2 separate regions of the Homo sapiens genome follow, and region 2 is linked to region 1. Evidence: promoter capture Hi-C in human tissues and cell types (Jung and others, 2019). All regions are on one chromosome and are shown on one strand. Each heading gives the region's core, a stretch centred on a gene start or on the middle of the fragment in contact. The rest is flanking DNA. Distances are from core to core; before and after follow the strand shown. Region 1 holds the start of FRAS1 (Fraser extracellular matrix complex subunit 1). Region 2 has its middle 62 kb from the start of FRAS1.

Region 1 (6,005 bases), core at 1,682-4,181:
CAGCAGGAGTTGATAAATAAATTCCCCAAAATGGGCAGCAACAAGGACAGGGAGTTGTGAAGAGATGACAGCAGGGCTGATCCAAGGAGATATTGTGGAACATATTAACAAAAGTTGTGGAATCTGGACTTGTAACTAAAGAGGACTGAAGATATAGACCCAAATATCTCTGGCTAGTGAATTGCCAACTTCCTATGAGGAAGCATGAAGCTGTCATTTGTGGAGGTTAACTTATAGAGATAAGCTAGTTATGATTAGGTGCATCTCCATAAACATGCTTACTAAATTTTCATCATAATGAAATATGTTAGGTTTATATAATCTCTTTTTCCAACATTTCAGTTGAAGTGAACATAGGTGTTAGATATGCCTAATATTACAGAAATATTGGTTGACCCTTTGCTCTTCCAAGTGATCTTAGGGCAAGGACTCAGGCTGCCTTCTCCCTTGACTACTTAGGGCAGAGGGAGGACTATGTGAGTGGGCCAGCATGTGCCCCTGTGGTGGACTGGTGGTCAAGGGGGGATGTTATATATAAATCCAATAAATACAGCATATGATTAATTCAGGGTAACTTGGTAGTGCTATTCTCCCTTTATTTATTGCTTTTCCTTTTTGAAAAGTAGCATATTTGCAATTAGCAAGTATAACAGATATCTTATTGAGACCTGTGCCATAATTGTATGATTTTTGGAGTGCAGTGATTATTTATAGGCGTAATCAGGGTGGACCATGGCCTCCAACTTCCAAGCTCAAGTGATCCTCCCGCCTCAGCCTCTGGAGTAGCTGAGACTACAGGTGCACCCCACTGCACCCAGCTTGATTTTTAAAATAAAATCAAATTGTTGATTTTTGAGAGAACAAACGGTTTAAGTTACTCCCATTCAGTAGCAGCTGCAAAATTAGGAGGGGGTTTAAGGGTGACCGTCTGGTTGTCAGAGTGTGTTGGAAGCTGAGTTTGAATTTGCACATCACTTTACATGGATTGAGAAGATGTCCTCCACCCCCCCGCCCCGCCCGACCTTTATTTTTGAGACAGAGTCTCGCTGTGTCACCCAGGCTGGAGTGCAGTGGTGAGATCTCTGCTCACTGCAACCTCTGCCTCCCGGGTTCAAGTGATTCTCGTGCCTCAGCCTTCAGAGTACCTGGGATTAAAGGCATGTGCCACCACACGTGGCTAATTTTTGTATTTTTAGTGGAAATGGGGTTTCACCATGTTGGCCAGGCTGGTCTCGAACTCCTGACGTCGTGATCTGCCTGCCTTGGCCTCCCAAAGTGCTGGGATTACAGGCGTGAGCCACCGCACAGGCCCTACTTTCTAAATAAAAAGGGAGGGGTCTTTTTTTGGGAGGAGGTTAAGGCCCGCAGCTCCCCTTGATATGGCCGCTGCTCTCAGGCACTTAATCCATTATTTCAACAAATGTTTAAAGAGCACCTACTATGTGCTTCAATTATACAAAGATGATACAACCTCTGTCCCTAGAATGACCACAGCCCAACAGAGAGACTGAGGGCGAAATGTGCAAACCCTGGGTCCTCCAAATACTTAAGATTCAGAGCCAGGTTGTCAGAGGTTCTCCTTTGTTCTGGCTGAATAGTAACACTGACAGGGACCTGCCAGTTTCAAGTTATTCCAGTTATTCGGAAAAGTGAATTGTTCCAAGTGGCGTCAGTGCACGTTAGAACGTGGGCCCGCGTCATGGTGTTCGTGAAGACTGGAAACAAGTGGGACCCCCGCCAGCACAGCTCATGCAACTGCTTCCCCTCCAACAGTTTCGCCCATCCCGACTCAATTGAGGGACCCGAGACGTTTCTTCTCTGGGCCAATCAGAACCCAGTCAGCATCTCTCTGATGCAACTGTTCCCTTATAAAACGATTAAACGTGGACCAGCTATTTTTATTCGGTCCTATAAAAATAGCTGCCGTCAGTCAGTCCTGGCGGGGAATCAAGGCCTCTGCTCTTCAAGTGCGCGCCCCAGTCGGCCGTGTCCTGATGTTACTTTCCCAGCCATTGGCATCTGGGGGCGCAGCTGGACCCACAGCTCCCAGACCGCGTTGTGTTCCACTGACAGAGTCTCCTAGGGAAAGGGAAAGGTGCATTTGCTCTCAGGCTCCGCCTAGGACACACACACCAAGATCTTCCCGGGCTGCTGGTAAAAGCCAGGATGCAACAGCCTGAGGGTCCCAGAGCGAGGAAGAAGGATCAATCAGGTCCCCCGGACGCACTTAGTTCAGCAGGAGTGGCGGGCTGTGGGGGTGGGAGGTAGCCCCAGGGCCTTTGATGTGGGCACACGCTCCCCCAGCCCGCCGAATCGGTTCCTCCCCTAACAAGGGATGTGGACACGGTTCATCTGCCTTCCGGTGTGCCTGAGCAAGAACTGTGCAACCTATCTCCACCCCCTCCGTCCCCGGTATGAGCACTTTTGATTCCTCCCCAGACAAAGCCAATCTGAACTCCAGCAGAATGAATAAAGGGATCAGGTTGCTCTCCCGGCCTCCCCTCACCTCCCTCCTCGCTTCTCCCTTTCCCCACGTGACTCTCTGGAATTTCGCCAAAGCTCCGAGTCTCTGGGTCCATTTTCACACCGAGCAAAGCAGAGAGGAAGGAGGCAAGGGAGACTAGAGGAAGGCTGAACGTGTGTCCTTTAAACACGGGGTCCAGACCCGGCGTATTTTGGGCGTTTCCAGGCTCTCTCGCCAGAGTGGCCTTGAGTTTGGGGGTCTTTTCCAGCCTCGCTAGCTTTTTCCTCCGTGCAATTAAAATTATGGCTCTTCTTCCACTCCCGTAATCATTGCACCTCTACCCTGCAGACCTCCTCCGGGGTGTTCAGCGCGGAGGTGGGTGTTGGTGTGCAGCAAGCCGCGTCCCCGCAGCCCTCCTCACCCAGGCGAGGGGCGGGGACGAGAAAGTAGCAGCAGCGCCCCCCAGTCTTTCCTCTGAAGCTTCCGAACAGTCTGCTTCAGGGAGCGCAGCCTGAGGCGGTGTGGTGCGGTGCGGCTGCAGGGCGGGCGAGTCCCCGGAGCTGCCCTCAGCGCTGCACAGTTTCCAGCGAGCGGACCCCGGCAGATGAGGTCTGCCGAGCCGGGTGGCTCGACCAAGGAGTGGGTGTGGGTGGGTCTTTCGGGGCTCCCGGCGACCCGCGGTGCCGACGCAACGCCGACGTATGGTGCCAAGCGAACTTTAAAAAGCTGCTTCGGACAAACCAGAGCCAGGATTTCCACTGTCGGGGACCCGGGATCGGAAGGGTCTAGCCCGAGGGAAATGCTGGAAGATCCCATCGGCCAGTGACCAGCAACTTTCCGGCGAGATTTTGACGCGGAGAACTGTGCTCTGCCTCCTCTTATTCTCCCAAAGCTCACGTTGGCGTCCTGCCTTGCGGGGGAACTCGGCGCGCTCTCTGCCTGAGCAGCGAGTGAATTGAACCCCAGCCCGCTCCGGCGCCTCCGGGCTGATGAGTGTCGCTCTCCGCCCGTCCATCTCTTTTTCCCGGAGGTAAAGGCCCGCGGTCCCCCACCTTCAGTGCGCCCGGGTTCCAAGCGCCGGAGCCAGCGTTTTGGCGGAGCCGCTTCTTGGATGCTGAAGGCTGGGCTCCTCCATCGTGGGTGCCGAGGCGGCGATGGGTGTCCTCAAAGTGTGGCTCGGGCTGGCCCTAGCGTTGGCGGAATTTGCAGTATTGCCTCATCATTCCGAAGGTGAGAGAGCGGTGCCGCGTGTGTGTGTGTGTGTGCGTGTGCGTGTGTGTGTGTATGTGTGAGTGATCGTGCAGTTTAAAAATCTCAGCAGGTTTTATGGTATTTCGGTGAGGTGGAAGTTTTTCTGGGAAGGGTGAGGTGGAAGTGAAACTGGAATAGGCTTTTTCTGATAAGATTCCTACTCCTGATTGTTTTGTATTCGGATTACACCCCCGAAACGGCCTCCCTCTCTGCCCTAAGTGCTTTTGGGTGGGTGGGTGGCCGATGGAGGTGACATCTCTGAAACTGATCCTTTTTCTTTCCACCACCTACCTTTCCCCGAAGGGAAAGCAACTGCATGGAGCACAGGTGAGGAGCGAACAATTGCTCTTACCTGTTTAAAAATACTTCTGTTCCTAAGAAACATACAGTCTTTCATCTTAAAGCCCCATCGCTCTCCCGCCCTCCTTACCTCAGTTAGTCTCCCCCTAAAGTCCAGTTAGGATTTTATAACTAACTGGTTGGAGCGTGTTCTGGTCGTGGGCAGTTCAGTTGCACTGAAAGAAATCTCTCCAGTACGGAGAAGCACGAACCAGCCTGCTTCCCAGAACAAAAGTGGTTAATAAGAGTTTAGGTTCATTCTTTTACTTCACCCTCCGCCTCCTGGTTTTCCTCCGAGGCTCCAAGCTACCTGTAAAACCCCGGAGCCGCAGGAGAGAAAAGGAAGCCGTGAGACTAGTTGTCGCCATGATATCAAATGCAATCCGGGCTCAGCCAAATAAATGAGTCAATAAGTAAATCAAGAGTTTGGGGTCATGGGATGCCGGGCCTGGGGACGCGAGGCGCTGTGAGCTCCCTCCTGCTCCGAGGAGCCAGGGAAGTCGCCCCGCCAGTGCTTAGGGAGGGGGAAGGGAGCCGGCGGGCTGGGAGGAAGACGGCTTAATCCACAGCGCCTGGCTCTCGGCTTCCCCTCCCGGCTCCATTCATTATTCATCCAGCTGCGGGAAGAAGAGTTCACCTGCCCAGCCGCAAACCAGAGCCGCGGCTGGGCGGCGGCGGCGGGCGCAGGGCGGGCCGCCTTCTCCGCCCTGGTGCCTAGGAAGGGGCGCGGGGCGGCTCCCGGGAGTCGAGCTCTGGCGCAGGACTGGGGGCTGCGGGAGGCCCGGGGAGGACAAAGCTCTGCCTCGGGTCGACCTCCAGTCACTGGAGCAGCTGCCTTTTCTTTGCTGGCTTCCCAAGAGAAAGGCCTTGGGAATCCACGCACAAGGGTGGGGGACTTTCCCGTGGGTCCAGGTGCTGCCTTCTGCACTCTTCCGGGATGTGTGTCAAGTGTGTATAATCTCCGCGAAAGGCACATCTGGGGCCTGTGCAGCCTTCTCCCAACAGTGCAAGTCCTGTAGAAATATAACTTTATTGTTTATGTGCGTGTGGGCGCGTACTTTGGAAAAAAAAAAAAAAAGCTTGTAGGGCTTGATTATAACAATAAACCAGATGAGAGAGTCACCCCAGGCCACCCAAACCTGAACTTGGTACTTAGAAAAATTAATTTCACTTGGTGGCAGTTTTTAAAATTTAGAGTCCTATCCCAGCAACGCAGGAAACGTGCTATCACTCCCGGATAGCTCACCAGGGGGCAGTTGGAATGGTGCAGCTTGTCGGAACCAAAACTCTGAAATCAACAAAAGGCATTATTATTAAGAGCCTGCAGGGTGCGCTCTTTGGCAGATTGCTTGATCCAGTGGGCCAAGTTTAAGAAGTGCGGAATCTAGACTGGGAGGTGGGGATGGGGGGATGTGAAGCACAGAAAGCTGGGGGTAGAGACGGGGGGCGGGGGCGGGGGCGGAGAGAGGGTGTGGATATTACTCCAAAGAGTCTTTGGAAACTTTGCTTCTTATTGTTTGACTTTACTGTCAGAGCATTCTATAGCTGTTTCACAAATTGGATTGATAAATTGATAGATGTCTGAGTTTCCACCCACGTCATAATGGTGCTTATCTAATAATGAATGAATGAATGAATGAACATGGCCATTTATTGAGCAGGTATTGTTTGCCTGGCTCTTTGCTAAGCACTTTACATACTTTATCTCATTTAATTAGTTTAATTAAGTGATATCACTCCCACAGACAAAAAAACATTTGTCATCTGATGAGACCTCTGGTTTGGTCCTCTCAAGGTTTTCTTTTTCTTTAAAAAATAAGAGCATTGAGATCAAGGTTGGAAACCTCAAGGATCTTAGAAATCTCCTCAAGTTTTTATTATCAGCCTAGAGAATAATTTTTAAAAATAGAAAAGAGACATTCACATGTATACTTCTTTTGATGGGATGTAC
Region 2 (6,005 bases), core at 1,307-3,806, 62 kb before region 1:
TTCGCCTGATGCCCATTGCTCATTTGAAAGAACTCAAGTTCTTAACAACTGAAGGCAGCAGTGGTGTGAAGCCAGATGTCTTTACCCATCTGCTGTTCCTGATAGCTGAAGCTACTTCATCAACACTGGTTAATATGCTCTGGCAGGTGCAGGTCTTTAGAAATCAGTTTAAATTATTAAACCCCTTGCTTACACATAGGCTTCTAGAATCCACCCCAACTTTATATCTTGCCCATGGTCAGGCATCATGAGGGGACTGGACCATGCTCTTGTGACTCTTTTCACTGCCATCAGGATTTGAAGTCTTTATTTAGAGAGTCTCAGGCTGCCTTTAATATGTTTTTACCCTCTGACCCAATAATTCTTTTTTTTTTTTGAGACAGAGTCTTGCTCTGTTGCTCAGGCTGGAGTGCAGTGGCGTGATCCCAGCTCATTGCAACCTCCACCTCCCAGGTTCAAGCGATTCTCCTGCGTCAGCCTCCTGAGTAGCTGGAACTACAAGTGCCCGCCACTGCACCTGGGTAACTTTTGTATTTTTAGTAGAGATGGGGTTTCACCATATTGGCCAGGCTGGTCTTGAACTCTTGACCTCAAGTGATCCACCCACCTCGGTCTCCCAAAGTGCTAGGATTACAGGTGTAAGCCACCGCACCTGGCCTGACCCAATAATTCTACTTCTGGGAATTTAATTGAATAAAATTGTCAGAGAGCTATTCAGAAATTCACATATACAACGTTTGCAATAACATGGTTATAATATCAAAAACCTGGAAACAGTCAAATTAGTTAAGTAGGAGATTACATAATGATACAGCCACACTGTACTATGCAGCTACTAAAAATCATTTAGCAAGATTGGAAAATGCTCATTATATACTATAAGGTGAAAAGAGTAGAATGCAACTATAGGTATATAGTGTAATTTTGTAAAACAAACTATACATATATATGCATATAATTTTAGAAAATATATTTGTATTAGTAGGGTTATAGATATTTGCAAGTATTTTTCCTATTTAAGCCAATCTGTATTGTCCAGGTTCTCCATAATTTTATCAAAAACAGTTAATTTTCAATTATAAATTAGCTCAGCTTTTTGTTTTAAATAAGTGATAATGAAAAGGCAGTGGTTCACATACAGAAAAGTGCGGGAACATCCTTACGAAGCAACAAATTTAAAGGTGAGAAGGAGAGACAACAAGATCAGCAGGGATCAAGGTGCCAGTGTGGGAGAGGGAGCACTTACAGATTTGGGTCATCCCGACCTGGGGATCTCTAAGAAAAAGGTGAAAATTCCATGCCAAGTTCAATAAATACAGAGCTCAATACTGATTTCAGATGATAAAGTATTAACACATTGTTGATGATAAGGAATCAGCTACATTGGTTCTGTTCACTGCAGCAGCATGGCCAGAAGAGTGATGCTTGGGTCAGGAGGTAGAGCTGCCTCCCTGACTAAGGTCGAGTCTAGAAGCAGAGATAGAAGAGCAGAGCCTGTTGTAGGTTGTGAGGGAGAGGAAGTGAACCCAGCAGGCAGAGCAAGCATAAAGTTTATTGCCAGGAACACAGCAATGGAAAATGCAGGGTTGAGTAATATTCAGAGATCCAAATCCAGCAGCCAGAGGGAGCCTTTAAAAGTTAAGTCTAATCTGTCATTCCTCTGCTCAAAATCCTCCAGTAGCAACTCATTTCACCCAGAGTAAAAGCCATAGTCATAAAATCTAAATCTAAAAAATGTGCCCTTGGAAATCAGCTTGAGGTATCATGTTGTTCTTGGACTGCACAAGGATGGCAGAATCTCCCCAGTAGCTGTCAGCCACACTGGCCTTTGCTTTTTTTTTCAGTTCCCTAGGACCTCTAAAGAGCTATAACAACTAAACCTGCAAGCTTGGAACCTATAGCAGATTTCATCCACAAGGGGTCCCAGGAGAGGAAGCCTTGATACACAGATGCAAGTTGGAATCTAGGTATGAGGGACTGTGGGGAGTGCAGTGAAACTGACTATTTGGGTCTGGAACATAAAGTGTCATTGTGCTCTTGGGGCAACTGCAGTTGTGCAGGGATCAAATCCTCTGCTTCGAACAAACAAACAAACAAACCAACCCACCAATGTGCTCAACTGCTTCAAGCAGGTTTAAGTAATAAGAGTATATATGAGGCTCACCTGCCTGCATTTATCTGTGACCCCAAGATCTAAAATGATGCCACAGTCATCATGGAAAAGTAGCGTGGGGAGAGAGAGGAATGTGGAAGAGAAGAAAGGGGAAGGTAGTCCCTGGAAAGCCTGGGGAACTGGTCAAGATGGTGTATGGCTGTACCCTGACCCGTTCCATCAAAGCAGAATCTAAAGTGCTGCTGTGAGTTTCCAGAAAAGGAGCAAAACCCACAGGATGCACACATTCCAACTGTGCTCTGTGGAGCCTTTGGTCTAAATCTAACCCAGCTTTTCTGAGGTCAAAGGCTGAGTCAGTGAGAGAGCTGAGAATAGAACCCCTGAGCACCTGACGCCCGCCTGTGACCTATCTGTTAAACCATACAGAACAAGGTGTGTGCACATAAAGCATTTTTTATTTTAGTGATGGGAAGCAGGGCTTACCAAGTTTAGAAACTTCTTTGAAACCAGAGGTTCAGTCTTTGCAACCTGCACACTGACAATTACATAAAACATATATTTCTTTTTCTTCCTAGTGAAAGGGACTTTTTCAAATAATAAATTAGAGGATTCAAAGATGTTTTCCTAGACATGAATGGTTGTTTAAAAGCAGCACTTTTTTTCTTATTTAAATGTAGATGAATCTGAATGGGCTGGATTTAAACTGTGACATGCATTTCTAAGTTACGTTCTCCTCTACCTGTCTGCGCCAACACAGAGAAACACAGCAGTGAAAGTCTGTGCTCAAACCTCATCATAAACACAAGCCAAGGAGTTCCATACAAGGAACAACTTTTTGATTCCACCTGCCTGTTTTTGCTAGACCTTGACTTTGAGAAGAAAAAAAGGCTTGCAGTATAATTTTGGGGCTGCTCCAAGCCATGCGGGTTTCCCAGGTAGGCTAATAATTTTGTGCACCCACAAACCGTTACTAAATAAATACTTTTTAGGCTAAGTGTGGCAAGGAGTAAGAGGACTTTTGTGACAGCAGTTGGCATGTCCTATCCTATGCTATCTAAAATGGTAGCCATTAGACACACTTGGCTCTTTAACTACAAATTGATTAAAACAAAATTCAATTTAAAAATTGGTTATTTACCAGCTACTCATACCAGCTACATTTCAAGTGCTAAATAGCCACCTGTGGGTAGTGGTTATTGTATTACACAGCACTGATATGCAGAAAGCTCTACTGGACAGTACTGTTATGTCCCAAGTAATTCAGGTTCCAAATATATGTGCTCCTTGCTGTGCTCATCTACTGACAAGGCAGTTTAATGGTAATCTGTTATATTCTACCATTCAATCATTCAGCATGTATTGATCGAACACCTACTACACTTCCTGGCTTTGTTTGCCTATGGGCCAAGTGGTACCTGTGGCTTCAGATTTCAAAGAAGGCCCCGGGGCAGAAAATGAAAAGACCCATGGTAATGTTTGATGTGAGACTGTCTGTGTAGAAAAAACTCACTGTTTTTCTCTTTATTTGCACTCTCAATACTTCACTTCTGATACTGTGTGTGTGTGTGTGTGTGTGTGTGCCTGTGTGTAAAGTTTCCCACGCCAAGTAGTTCTCCAATTCTCTGCAGACACCAACCAGGTATCCTAGCATTCAATTCAATTCGGACACTCATCAGACTTAGCATCAGCTCCTACAGTTCGGACACTAACCAGAGTTAGCATCAGATTTCACAGGTCAAGGATTTAATCCCACAAAATTGCTCCCAATTCAGATGCCAATCCCAAGTCCAGGTTGTCACTCATGGTTCTGACCAGCCAACTATAAATCAGGCTCTCCACAACCCCTCCCTAGGTGAATCGTTTGCTAGACTAGCACACAAAACACAGGAAAAAAGTTTACTTCCTAGATTACTGGTTGATTATAGAAGACACAACTCAGGAACAATCAGATGGAAGGGATGCATAGGGCAAGGGATGGAGAAGGAGTACGGAGCTTCTATGCCCGCTGCGGGCACACCACCCTCCCAGGACCTCCACATGGTCACCTACCCTGAAGCTCCCCAAATCCTGTAGTTTAGAGATTTTTATGCAGGCTTTAATATGTAGGGATGATTGGTTATTAACTCAGTTTCTAGCGCCTGTTTCCTGCCCAGAGGATGGGGGTTGAGGTTGAAAGATTCAAGCTTCTAATTCTGGTTTGGTCTTTCTGATGACCAGCCTCCACCCAGGAGCCCACCAACGTTTGCCTCATTAGAACAAAACACATTCCCACCACCCAGAAAATTCCAAGGTATTAAGAGCTCTGTGTTAGAAAGCAGGGTCAAGGACCAAATATTAGAGAAAAGATATTCACTTAACAAAACTATTGTTCAGGAAATTACTTTCAGGAGCTCTGTGATAGGAACCGGAGGCAGAGATCAGATGTGTATTTTTTTATTATGTCATACTGTCCACTGCCACTGGAGATGAGAAATGGGCTTAGGGTAAATGACCCAGGGCACCAAAATTGTGCACTTTGTAACTGTAACTATTTTTGCCTTCATTTAAAAAATCACTGCTATTACAATTTAAAGTATTTTTAGTATCCAGTAGTAACACCATGTGAGCATTCGTTTGAAGGTGGTCCAAATGATGCTGCTGAGAAAATGGTCCTGAAAATCAGTATCTTTGGAATAGAAGCTAGACATGCTAAAATAAGACCAAACACCCTGACACACTGGGTTGTACATTTTGAAGAAAGCATGCTATGAAATATTAGAAATAATCTTGGAAAAAACATAAAACAACTATTAAAGTGAAAATAGACAAAAATTACAGTAGATGTATGTGCTATGAGAATCCATCCTTCCCTAGTTTCCATTTAGGAAAATTTTCCATGTGGGAAAATTAGGCTGGAATTATGCAACGCTTAAGGAACACAACCCTCACATGAGCCATCCCTGAATAACTTTCTTCATCAAGGTACTTTTCCAGCGAAAACTGTATAGATTGGCAGCCAAGGAGACTGCTCAGTGAATCCATCCTGTTGTTTAGCTTCAGTCTGGCACATAAGAGTAAAAAATACTGTGGTTGCACACACAACATCCATTTTACCCTCTTACTTTGGGTAGAAACCATGTGGCTGTTCTCCCCTAACTCTAGAGGTGGATTCTCACTAGTCTAGGCCTGGCTGTTATTGGTTTAGATGGGCTCATTTCCCAGGTCTAAAATTACTGTGACTTCCTTAGCCATACTAATTTTTTTCAGAGGTGAGAAAGTCCAGTCAGTGGGAAGCTTAAGAATTTGGTTTTATGGTTGGAAGGAAAGGAACCCCTTCTTGCCCCCAGTGCAAATGAGAAAGCATTTAGCCCTAGGAGCTGCGGGTAGCCACCTTGCTACCATATGGAAAACCAGCCTAAATAAAAAGCCAGTGCAAGAAGGAGAGCACAACCACGGGAACTGAACATTTTTAAAAAAGGAGCAATGACCCTGATGATAATATTATAAACCTTTGGCCCAAACTAACCCTAAAGTTTGCTCTCTAGTCTTTCTAGTTATGTGATTCAGTAAACTCCCTTATTCTCTGAGCCAGGTTTTTTTTTTTTTTTTTTTCCCAAGCTGGAGCTTTGCTTTTGTTGCCCAGGTCGGAGTGCAGTGGCGCAATCTCGGCTCACTGCAACCTCCGCCTCTCAGGTTCAAGCAATTCTCCTGCTGCAGCCTCCTGAGTAGCTGGGATTACAGGTGCCCACCGCCACGCCTGGCTAATTTTTGTTGTTGCTGTTGTTGTTGTTTTTTAGTAGAAAGGGGGTTTCACCATGTTGGCCAGGTGGGTCTCGAACTCCTGACCTCAAGTGATCCACCCGCCTCGGCCTCCCAAAGTGCTGGGATTATAGGCATGAGCCACCGGCCCGGC

The links. Contacts are between HindIII fragments. The study calls those that stand out against the background at their distance.
Region 2: a contact is called between a fragment that was not itself captured here and the fragment with the promoter of FRAS1 in region 1, in 1 of the 25 tissues and cell types used here (dorsolateral prefrontal cortex).

Annotation. Positions count from the first base shown.
Region 1 is chr4:78,054,392-78,060,396 of GRCh38, forward strand. FRAS1 (Fraser extracellular matrix complex subunit 1) reads left to right here and starts at 2,932. Exons shown (of 74, transcript NM_025074.7): 1 at 2,932-3,694. The coding sequence starts at 3,619. RefSeq lists an enhancer at 1,518-2,489. The HindIII fragment of the contact is 7,312 bases long and covers 1-5,688 here.
Region 2 is chr4:77,992,718-77,998,722 of GRCh38, forward strand. No RefSeq gene overlaps it. Among named protein-coding and RNA genes, the nearest start is that of FRAS1, 62 kb to the right of the region's middle. The HindIII fragment of the contact is 4,570 bases long and covers 272-4,841 here.